2 separate regions of the Homo sapiens genome follow, and region 1 is linked to region 2. The links are contacts of gene promoters, found by promoter capture Hi-C in human tissues and cell types (Jung and others, 2019). All regions are on one chromosome and are shown on one strand. The core of a region is centred on a gene start or on the middle of the fragment in contact, and the rest is flanking DNA. Distances in the headings are between cores, read along the strand shown.

Region 1 (5,874 bases), core at 3,308-5,807, 50 kb before region 2:
TAAGCAGGCTCATTCTCACCTCCAGTCCTCTACTACACAGAGGAATAATGTTATTCTTCTCTTCATTTGCTGGGATTCACATTCTGCCACTTCCACCAAGAAGTCTCTCATCCTCAACTCCCAAGGGAGGTCATAACACCCATCCTCTAAGCTCACTCCTACTGTGATCTGAGCTTCCTTCTCTCATCCTTGTCTATTCCTCGACTGACCTTCCAGGCTCCCCAGTAGATGGCGAGTTCTGTGAGGGCAGGGACCTTGTTCAATGAAATAGTCTCAACCCTGGCATAGTGCTTGGCACAAAGTAGGTACCCAAAAATATATATTGAATGAATTAATGAATAGACTAATGGATGCAAGGAGAGGCAAGGTGACAGAGAACTTTAAACATGCAGAACATTTAGACTATGAAATAAGAAAAAGGGAGTCATTAATATTTTTGACCAAAAAGGATGAAACAATAAAAGCTAAGCTTGGTTTTGTTTTATAAGATTAGTCTTGTTGTGTCTTTGGAATAAAATGAAGTACAGAGACTAGACTTCTGAGGCCAACCAAAGCAATATTACAAGCACAAAGTAACAAATGCCTAATCTAGGGTTACAGTAATAAAAATGAAATTATATTTCAAAACAAAAATCAGTAAGACTTCCTGATGCATCCATTGTGCGGGCTGAATGCAACTGGACAAATCAAGGTGACTCCATCTACTTCAGGATTCTGCAGTCCACCAGTAGTAGAATATAAAGTTTAAGGCGACATGTGTGCTATAATATGTTTTTGGTTACTTGTCTAAAAGTTATTTAGCCTGTCATATTCATTTAGTATATCCTATGAACTGAGCATGATTCTTAGGATACAGCTAGTGCTGACTGAACCGATGGATGAATTTAAATTCCTCTTTTATTGCCTCAGGTCACTTTTTGGAAGGTAGGGAATATATAAATCTAATATGTAGATATGCATATAGATACAGATATATGTATGGATTCCAAATGTGAATCCCAGGCAGTGAAGAGAAAATATATATATATTTTATATGTATATATATATATATGTTTTCAATATATAATTGTACATTTATTTGTATATATGAGGTGTGTACATGTATGCATATATTATTATACACACATCCCTGTTTCCTCTAATGTCTTTTTTTCAATACACGAAAGCTATAACAACCACACAGAATTAAATCTTTTCCTTGGATTTCTCTAGTCAAATGTTAATCTCCTATTAACAATCCTTGCTCCCAGTCTTTTTATCTGAATTACCAATAACATGCATTTTTTCTTCCTAAAGATATTATTATCATCTGCATATATTTCATTGAAAAAGATATGCAAATGGCAAAAACACATGAAAAGGTACATCATTAGTAATCAGGGAACTGCAATTCAAAACCACGATGAGATACCACTTCACATCCACTAGAACGACTATAATCAAAAAGAAAGATAATAACAAGCATTGACAAGGATGTGGAAAAATTGAAACCTTCTTACACTGCTAGTGGGAATGTAAAATGGTACAGTCACTTTGGAAAACCGGCTGGTAGTTAAACATAAAGTTACCATGTGACCCAGCAATTCTGCTTCTACATATTTACCCAAAAGCAATAAAACACACATCCACAAAAGAAAAAACCTTACATAAACCTGGCCATTAGAGCAAGACCCCATCTCTACAAAATAAAATAAAAAATTATCCAGGTGTGGTGGCACACACCTATAGTCCCAGCTACTTGAGAGGATGACATGTAGCTCCTGCTGACGTGGAAGGATTGCTTGAGCCCAAGAGGTTGAGGCTGCAGTAAGCCATGATTGCACCACTGCACTCCAGCCTGGGCAACAGAGCAAGACCCTGTCTCAAAAAAAAAAGAAAAACTTATAAACAAATGTTCATAGCAGCATTATATGTAATAGTGAAAAAGTATAAATAGCTTAAATGTTCATCAACTGATAAATAGATAAACAAAATGTGGTATATCTATACAATGAAATACTAAGTGGCCTTGAAAAAGAATGAAGTACTAATACATGCTACAACATGGATGAACCTTGAAAGCATTATGCTGAGTGGGGAAAAAAAGCCAGTCACAAAAGACTATATATTGTATTATTTCTTTTCTATGAACTATCTAAAATAGTCAAATCTATAAAAACAGAAAGTAGATTAGTGGTTGGAGGAGGGGGTATTGAGGAGTGGTGATGGAAGGATGCAGGGTTTCTGTGGAAAGTAATAAAAATGTTCTAAAATTGATTGTGGTAACGATTATACAACTTCTTGAATATACTAAAAACCATTGACGTATACACTGTGAATGAGTGAATCATTTGGTATGTGATTTATATCTCAATAAAGGTGTTACAAAATATATTGTCATGGAAGTAGTACACTTGTATAGATAAACTTATTTATTTAGAGAAAAGGAGCAAAAATAAATGGGGGTGCCATTTTCAGTGGTGAGAGGTTGGGCATATTTACACCAAATGACTGCTTTTCAAGAAATAAATCAGGAACGTGACATAGACAGCACTAGTCAAGGGCAGTCTGAATACTGCCAATAACGTTACCTTTTGCCTTTACTTAGGATAAATTCTTGTGCTAAAGAATCTGAATTAGGCCGGGCACAGTGGCTCTCGCCTGCAATCCCAGCACTTTGGGAGGCCGAGGCGGGCAGATCACGAGGTCAGGAGGCCAACACCATCCTGGCTAACACGGTGAAACCCCGTCTCTACTAAAAATACAAAACATTAGCCAGCCGTGGTGGCGGTCGCCTGTAGTCCCAGCTACTCGGGACGCTGAGGCAGGAGAATGGCATGAACCCAGGAGGCAGAGCTTGCAGTGAGCCAAGATCGCGCCACTGCACTCTGGCCTGGGCGACAGAACAAGACTCCGTCTCAAAAAAAAAAAAAGAAAGAAAGAAAAGAATCTGAATTAAATAGCAATATCATTGTCTATCATTTCACTAAATTTTGGCTAACCTACTCTGTCCAAATGGAAATGAGAATGTCAAGGCAAGAAAAATGTGGCTGGTCTAATTTAGAAAATACTGAGATAAGGATTATTTCCTTGGGAGGAAAAGTAAACAAAAAAATACCCCAGTTCATTTTTCTCTAAGATCCCATTCAAACTCCATGTTCTCATCTGTAGAATACGGAGGAGGGTATTTAACTAGATACCCTTAAGCTTCTTTCTGCTTCCAAAATTCTATGACTATGGCACACAATTAAACCAAGGAATATGTATCAGAATTGTGGTGAAACCTATCAGGATTACAGGGAAAACTTCAAGATTTGCCAGGAGCTCAGATAGAAACTTCATCTGGGTTGGAAAACCTTGGAACATTGGAAAACCTCGTCTAAGAGCTCATGCTCTACACTGACTCTTTTACCTGAAATAGATAAGATGGGAAAAATTCAGTTCAGCATAATTGCTCGTCCTACCATCTGTAATAACAACTAATGATCAGGGTGTGTTTTAAGCCTGAATTGCTTCAGTCACTATGTGAAGAGAAACAATCACAAAAAGACTCTCTCTGAAATGGTCTGAACTGTTCAGGCCTAGGAATTGTGACTGGCCGATTTCTTTCAAATATTATTGTTTTCTAATGGAGTGGGACTCAGCAAGAAATTTTTCAGGCCAAAGTAATACATGCTTCTTACCCCTTGATAAATCCAGACAAGATGGGGCATTCAAAATAGGAAAAAGACTTTGGGACAACGATGGAATGTGAATTGGCTTCTTAGCTCTGCAACTGGAAAGCAAAATTCCAAGTACTGGAAACCCAAAGATGTGGCAGCCCACTGGGAAACATAGCTCTGAAACAGAAGAAGCTAGGAAAGAAACAATAATAAAAAAATTGATGAGTTACCCAGGAATTGGAAATATTGATCCATGAATAGAAATTCAGAAAATTTAAATTGGGGTGGAGGAAAAATGTATCTTATCATTCTTTAAAAAACAATTTTTTTGAAAGACCCAGGCTATCTGGGCAAGGTACTAAAATATGCTAATACATTTATAGCTTAGTGTCGGAGGGCCACTCTGTCATTCTTAATCCCCATGAGCTAGTCTCTGCCTTTATCCCCTAAGTAATGAACAAACCAGTCTTAGAAGATGAAATGGGTTGGGTTCACTCAGACTGGTTCAGATAGTTTTCCCTCTAGATTATAGCTGGCTTTTAGGAAGGAGGCACATACAAATTAGGCTTCCCATTTCAATCCATAAATCTAATTTTACTTCAATGTAAGTAGGCCTTGACATCAACTTTATGTGCTCTTCAACTCTATTCCAGCTAAACCTGTAAAGTCTTTCTGTATGGGGGCAACAAAGTACCCAGTTTCATGCTTAAAAAATTACTTTCAGTATAGAAAAAGAAGACTGAAAATACCACTACACAAATTGTACTGTTGTTGAACAAGGAAAGGAAATGTGAGGAGGGAGGGCAGGAGAAATCTAGTTGCCTGTCATTTTAACAAAATGTCAGGCCTTTTTCAAGATTTCTAAGCTGGTCTTTGCTAAGATTTGATTCATGGCGTAGGACTTGTAACTAGAATGAGGATGAACTTTTCTTTGTGATTTATAAGAGACTACTGTGACTCGTTCAAGAAATCTATGTTCAACGCAATACATTAACTAGAAGCCCACCAAAGTATGCAGACTCTTCAATCCAAGTTTCCAGAAACTTCTGCAACTGGGAAAATCAGTTTCGAAATTTTTTCAAATGGTAATGTGAATTCCTTGGAAGCAAAGTTAGTATACCGTCCTACACTCTCCTAATGAGGGCAATTATGTTATACCTGCTTGATTTAAATTATATGTAGTGAGTAGAATTTATGGCAAAGGTACTGCAAAGGAATTCCAACATTCAATGAATTTACAGAAGAGGAAAGAAAGAAAATCATTTTGTGGTTCAAAAAATAATGAAAACCTCTCAGACCCAAAGTGAAATTGTATATTTCTGTTTACCAACATACCAGTAAAATGCATGCCCTGAAAAACACTAAGAGGAAGCCTGCTAAGGTCACGACAAAAACAGGACTCATTGATATCCATGGTGCCTTAAGGAAAAGGGAACCTCCGTGAGGTCCTACTAAGTGTCAGCTACCTTCCATATATCCTATGGCTCAATTCTCCCAACATTGAGACCTAAATGTTACTCTCTATGCACAGCTGAGGACACCAAAGCACAGCGAGGCCAAGCACTTTGTCCAAGATCAACATAGCTGGTCAACTGAGCCAGATTTTGAACATGAATCTATAAGCTACAGAGTCCAGGCCATTAAATCACTCTCCAAGAGGCATTCTGTGCTTTTCTAAGTTGAAAAGAGAATTTTCTCAGCAGTCTTCCTTCTTTATTTCCTATTTTTTTCTGAAAGGGGCTGCCTCACCTGAGGTAGAAATGAATTTAAATTCATTCCCATCCCCTAGACTAAAATAAACTCTGCAACATCCACAAACTGATATCAGAAATATAGCATAGGGAGAGAAGCAGATATGCCCACCACAAGACAAGTTTTCCTTTTGACTTAAGGTATTCAATGGTGCTCCTGAAAGGGAGAATGCATTGAATAGGAGCTCTTTAAGATTCATTTCTTTAAAAAAAAAATACAGCTTCATTAAAAATAATATCTAACCATGGTTTTTAAAGCTTTTGTTTTTTCCCAGAAGTTTTGTGTGTTTAATCTTGAGAACAACCCAAGAGGTAGAACAGGTACTCATCCAAGGTATTTGAGTTGTATGTAGCATTATATTAATTGCTACATACAATTACTTTTAAAGGCAAAAACCACAATTAACTTTTGCACCAAACTAATATTATTACATGGGCAAGTGAGGCTTCATGAGACAAATGTTAATAAATGCTTAATTCGC
Region 2 (5,718 bases), core at 2,706-5,205:
CAAGAAGGGGGCGCTGAGCTCCGCGTTGGCCTCGGCCTCCCTGGACCCTTCGTTTGCTTTCCGAGCACCCATCTGGGGCCCAGACCCTTGAAATATTTAAGGAGATACGCGCAAGAGCTCGGGGTAGGAGTTGGCAAACTGTTTGTTCTCAGACTAGACTCTTCCTAAGATGAGGGGCAAAGGCTCTCCAGACGCAGACTCTGGTCTCGTTCTCGGAAATCCGCGTCTGAACCGATGGGGTCCGAGGAGCAGAAGCGTACACGGAGGTGCACGGCCGCGGGCACAGGTCCCCCCGCGTGGCAAGAGGAAGCGGCCCAGCCAGCTGCAGGGGCGTCCTCGTTGTGGGGCCGGGTAGAGGGAGGGCCAAAGGCGAAGGAATGAGGTCATCCCCCCACCCCTCGAAAAAACCTTCCTAAAAGTAAAAATGTAAGGGATCTCAGCGTAAAGGAACCTGACTTGCAACCTCAAAGGGACAATCTCTGTTTTGGGAAATGGCGCCCCCAGATGGCTGAATCCCATGAAAAAATACTCACCCGGAGCAGGGAAGGCCTGGGTGCACGGACCCGGGGAGAGGTGACGTCACCCGCCCGGCTGGCCAGCGCACGGCTGAAAGCCAGGCGGCAACGCGGTTGGAGACACCCGACAAGTCGCGACAGGTCCCCAAGGCTAGCCCGGTAGTCACTTCACCTCACCGAGGCACATGTAACGTCAGCAGCTGTACCACTTACGGTGTGGCCCGGTTCGTTACTTAACCTCTCCATGCCTCAGTTTCCCAGTGACTGCTTGTGTGCAAAATGATCATCCGGGAGCCGGTGCTGGATTGTGTGAATTAAGGAACTAGCATTTTACACGCATCGTTCTTCTCGCTTTCACTCCTCAGAAATAAGGGTCCATCCGCTTTGATTTTACTACTTGAGAGTGGGGGTGGGAGGCTCGCTTTTCCCAGCTCTTCGCGGAGGCCAAGCGGACTCCCTGACAGGACAGAATCTGAACGTGAGAGTGAAGGTCTTGCCTGTCCAGAAACTCTTGTAGCCAGCACAGGTTTAAACAAGAAGCCAAATTGTTCTGGAGAGATTGCTGGGGGCTTTCTTTGTGCCTCAAGCTTCTTCAGTGCCCTGAGCACAGGAAACACTCAAGCAGAGAAGCAGAGCCAAACCCAGGATACGGGAGGTCGAGGCTCTTCCGTAGACCTGCAGCATTGGGGTGGGATGATGTTCATTCTGTGTGTGTTCTGGACCAAGCCCCTCTCCAGGGACCTATGGGCAGCCCCCTTTAAGCAAGATGCCCGGTGGAGTGGGCATCCACCATCACTTACCCTGGGCTTGGGTGAATAGATTTTCCGTGCCTTAAATGGGCAGGGAGGGGGTAAACATGGACGGTCCATTGGTACAAATAAAAGCCTTTGGTGGGTTTTGATCAATTGCAAGGATCGAAGGAGACCTGTGGACCTGAGGTCAACTGGCAGCAGAGAAGAGTCTGGGTTCGTGAAGGCGCCGCCGCGGTGCCGCGCCACGTGTGAGCATCCCAGGGACCAGTCTGGGGAGGCGCGCTGGGATGGGCACCCAGTGTCCCATCCCTGCGCTGCTCATATGGGCAGAGCTCCGTGCCCGCGTCCCAGCCTCCGCGGGAGGTTATTGCCCTGTTCCCCAGTGATCAATTGGACCGGTCTTAGCCCAAAAGCAGAAGGGAGTGGGGAGAGCGACTTGAGGTGGGAAAGGCAGCAGCAGCGAGTGCAGGGTCGGGACCAGACTAAGTGGCGTGGGTTCCGGGAGGAGCAGCGATGGGCCGCAGGGGACGCCGCGGGCCGGGCAAACAAGCTGGCCAGAGGTGGACACTGCGCACGGCAGGGATGGAGACTCAGGCGCGACTCCCAGCACCTCCTGGCGGCAAGCCGGGCAGCGAGGGCTCCCAAAACAATGCAGCCGGCGCGCGGAGCGCGGGGGCCGCCAGCCACTTCCGGGCGTGCGGCAGCGCGGGGCTCAAACCAGCCAGACCAGCTTCGGGCTCCTTGAACTCCCAACAAGGGGCTCTGCGGGGAGGAGGCGACCCCAGCGGAGGGCGTTGGGGATTTAGGGGTTGGCCGGGGCCGGCGGGGGGTTGGGGGGGCGTGAAAGCGAGAGGGCCCTTATCCCACTCCCAGGCCCAAGTCGTAGCATCTCTCAGAGCTCACGCTCTTTATTAGCTCTTTCTTTTGGTGTGCTTCTGTTTCCTTTGTGGTTTCATTGCAAAGTAGTTTATGTTGGGAAGGGGGCTTTTAGGCCTCTTGGTGCTTTCGTTAGAGACGAAAAGGCCCTGAACCAATTTGGGGAAAGAGAGGCCTTTTGCAGCTACCCCGGGCCCTTCCCCAGCAGAGCACCCGGAAGCTGGGCTCTTAGGGACGCAGATTCTTGGAGTTCAGAATGTGCATTCTCTCCAGATGACGATTTTCCTGGCGTGTTTACGGTCAGCAGATAACACTGAGTGGGCTTTTGCCACCCATTCATTCATTACCCGGCTCCTCTAAGCAGCTGGACCGCAAAGTGTGCCTGATAACTTGGGCCTGGGAGCCGCCAAGGCCAACGCATCTTCCGGAAGGAGGGAAATTAGGAAGCCGGGGTCTGAGCCTGTGAATGACTCTTAAGTGGTCGGGAAGTAATAACAATGCGCCCACCTTACATATGAAAGAACTTCGCCCTCCGGGGATTATCTCTTTGGATCTTCACAGCCACCCGGAGACAGCGGCTGAGGAGAGCGAAGGCCTCCTGTCCCCATAGGGAGACTAGGGACAATTAGGCAAAAGGAGCCCACCCCCCAACCCAGAACTTACTGTTTGCAGTCAGAGACACTAGATCCCAGGCTCCACGAGAGCAGAGGCCGGCCTGTTTGTTCATTTCTGCACATCCAGCGCCCAGCATGGTGCCCCCTGGTACGTAGGGGATGAATGAGCTAATTCTAGCCCTCGTGGATCTCTAGGCAGGACTCCTTCCTCTACCTCGCTCCCTCCCAGCCTGCCCATCTTTTGTGCCCGTCTTTTGTGCCGGCCACCAGTCTTTACAAACAGTGCCCTGGGGGCCCATACTCCAGCTTTCCAGAGCGCACAGCTGCAAGGGCGGCTGTGTGTTAGAGCCCGTGATGCCTTCGAGTATTGAGTCATGCCATTCATTTAAGAAGGAAAAATCTCTCCAAAACGGGGAAATGGTGGGCAGTCCTGTGTGACTGGTGAGACTCTTGTAGGGGCGTTTCTACAACGACGAAACCCTTCCTAGGCACTCACTCCAACAGAATAACAAGCCCATTTTATTAGTATTTCGTTTTCCATGTAAAGTTCTGCTCATACGAATATATTTATAATTCTGATTTTTTTACGGCATTGGGGAGCACACCGACAGGCTGCTGAACGGTGGCTGGAGATTCGAGGGAAAACGAAGTTCGCCGAGGCGGCCTCGGGCGGGCAGGTCCCGGGCTCCATCACAGGGCACACGCGGCTACCAGGGACGCAGCCCCCCAACACACACACACACACACACACACACACACACACACACACACACACCCTCTCCCACTCATGCCTGGCAACCCAGCAGAAACTTCGGACTGGGGCAAAACAAGCCCGGGCCCCGGCGGCACGCGGGGCTAGGCGCGTTCCCGCCAGTACCTGGTCGCGAGGCCGCTCGCGGGGTGCCCTGCGTGCCCCCCACTCCCGCAGCCCGCGCCCTGCTCGCTCACTGTGGGGGCGCAGCGGCCAGGCTTCTCTGTTTGTTGTTTAAAGAAATCCTAGGGCGGGCGAGCGGCGGCATCTAGGGGAGGGGGCGCAGCCAGAATTCCCTTCCAGCAAGCGCGTGAGGGGCATTCTCAACGCAAAACCAGACCCAGAAAGTAGTGACCAGCCCTCCTCGGATTACCCTTCATTGGCTCCTCCCTTGCTCCCCCCACCCTCCAGATTTGCATAAAAAAGGCCAAGAAAACTCTGGCTGTGCCCCAGCAACGGCTCATTCTGCTCCCCCGGGTCGGAGCCCCCCGGAGCTGCGCGCGGGCTTGCAGCGCCTCGCCCGCGCTGTCCTCCCGGTGTCCCGCTTCTCCGCGCCCCAGCCGCCGGCTGCCAGCTTTTCGGGGCCCCGAGTCGCACCCAGCGAAGAGAGCGGGCCCGGGACAAGCTCGAACTCCGGCCGCCTCGCCCTTCCCCGGCTCCGCTCCCTCTGCCCCCTCGGGGTCGCGCGCCCACGATGCTGCAGGGCCCTGGCTCGCTGCTGCTGCTCTTCCTCGCCTCGCACTGCTGCCTGGGCTCGGCGCGCGGGCTCTTCCTCTTTGGCCAGCCCGACTTCTCCTACAAGCGCAGCAATTGCAAGCCCATCCCTGCCAACCTGCAGCTGTGCCACGGCATCGAATACCAGAACATGCGGCTGCCCAACCTGCTGGGCCACGAGACCATGAAGGAGGTGCTGGAGCAGGCCGGCGCTTGGATCCCGCTGGTCATGAAGCAGTGCCACCCGGACACCAAGAAGTTCCTGTGCTCGCTCTTCGCCCCCGTCTGCCTCGATGACCTAGACGAGACCATCCAGCCATGCCACTCGCTCTGCGTGCAGGTGAAGGACCGCTGCGCCCCGGTCATGTCCGCCTTCGGCTTCCCCTGGCCCGACATGCTTGAGTGCGACCGTTTCCCCCAGGACAACGACCTTTGCATCCCCCTCGCTAGCAGCGACCACCTCCTGCCAGCCACCGAGGAAGGTAAGCCTTCCCTCTTGCTTCCCCACTCCCTGCTGGGCTGAGACGCTCCCAGGAGATCCCGCCCCTGCCACGCATCCCAGTGCATCCCTGCTTGGGGTGCCAGTAGCGGGAAGGGCAGAAGTTCTGCCTGACCTGGTCTGTCATCACAACAAGCCTGTATCAAATTTGAGGCACCCCTCCCACGCCGCCCAAGTCTCGCGCATTCTCCTCCCGAGTTGTACCAGCTATACTTAAGGGCAGTTTAAAAATAAAACAAACAAACAAAAACAACAAAACTAAAAAAACGAAGAACTGAACGGCGGTTTAAAAAAAAATAGATACACGATTATTGTTAAAGATGCTAGCACTGGAGCTGCGCAGAGCGTTGGAAGTGGTGTTTGGTGGAGGAGTTTGTGGTGAGCATTCTGGCCAGAGGCCCCTCGCTCAGCCTCATTCTGCACCTTCCTACCACTGGGCAGGATTCTAGTCACAGGAACATTTCCTGTACAGAAAGGAAAACCAGGATGCACAAGTAGATAACCTTTTAAGGGTCTTTTTGTCCTTTGTCAATTTAGATTTTGGAAATAAAACCGGGACTGGCACGGAGTGTGTGGAAAATTGAACATTGGTTGTAACTGCTCAGATACTTGAGGAAGAGGGCATAAAGGGAATCTCTGGAAATCACTTTTCTATTGCTATCAGTTTTTAACTTAGGAGTGGTTTTGATTAGCTGGAGAAAATCATGCAAAAGAGATTCCCAAGTTTTTAGAAAACGGAGGGAGAGTTCCTGTGCAAAAACCATCAAAGCAATGAAAACCTCATGGGCTCTCAATATTTTTTCTGAAAGGAAAACATATACAATGCCTCTGAGCTGATTTGGGTCCCCTGGGTTGGAAAAGGGAGCTTCCTAATCCCTTTCAGGGCTTCAGCAGCCTCTCCCTTTCAATCTCTAGTAGTTTTCCTACAGACATCATTAGTTAAAGCAAATGCAAAGTTCTTTAGCAATCTTTCCTGGCAGGGACCATGAGTTTGCAA

What was found. Contacts are between HindIII fragments. The study calls those that stand out against the background at their distance.
Region 1: a fragment that was not itself captured here is called in contact with the fragment with the promoter of SFRP2 in region 2 in 1 of the 25 tissues and cell types used here (small bowel).

The regions. Positions count from the first base shown.
Region 1 is chr4:153,838,116-153,843,989 of GRCh38, reverse strand. It overlaps LOC101927947 (a long non-coding RNA gene), which reads right to left. Exons shown (of 15, transcript XR_007058336.1): 2 at 3,663-3,833; 3 at 1,723-1,857. Among named protein-coding and RNA genes, the nearest start is that of SFRP2, 52 kb to the right of the region's middle. The HindIII fragment of the contact is 5,457 bases long and covers 1,829-5,874 here.
Region 2 is chr4:153,787,320-153,793,037 of GRCh38, reverse strand. SFRP2 (secreted frizzled related protein 2) reads left to right here and starts at 3,955. Exons shown (of 3, transcript NM_003013.3): 1 at 3,955-4,704. The coding sequence starts at 4,203. RefSeq lists enhancers at 1-114, 347-641, 2,324-3,025, 3,026-3,727, 3,642-3,811 and 2 more. The HindIII fragment of the contact is 9,313 bases long and covers 1-5,718 here.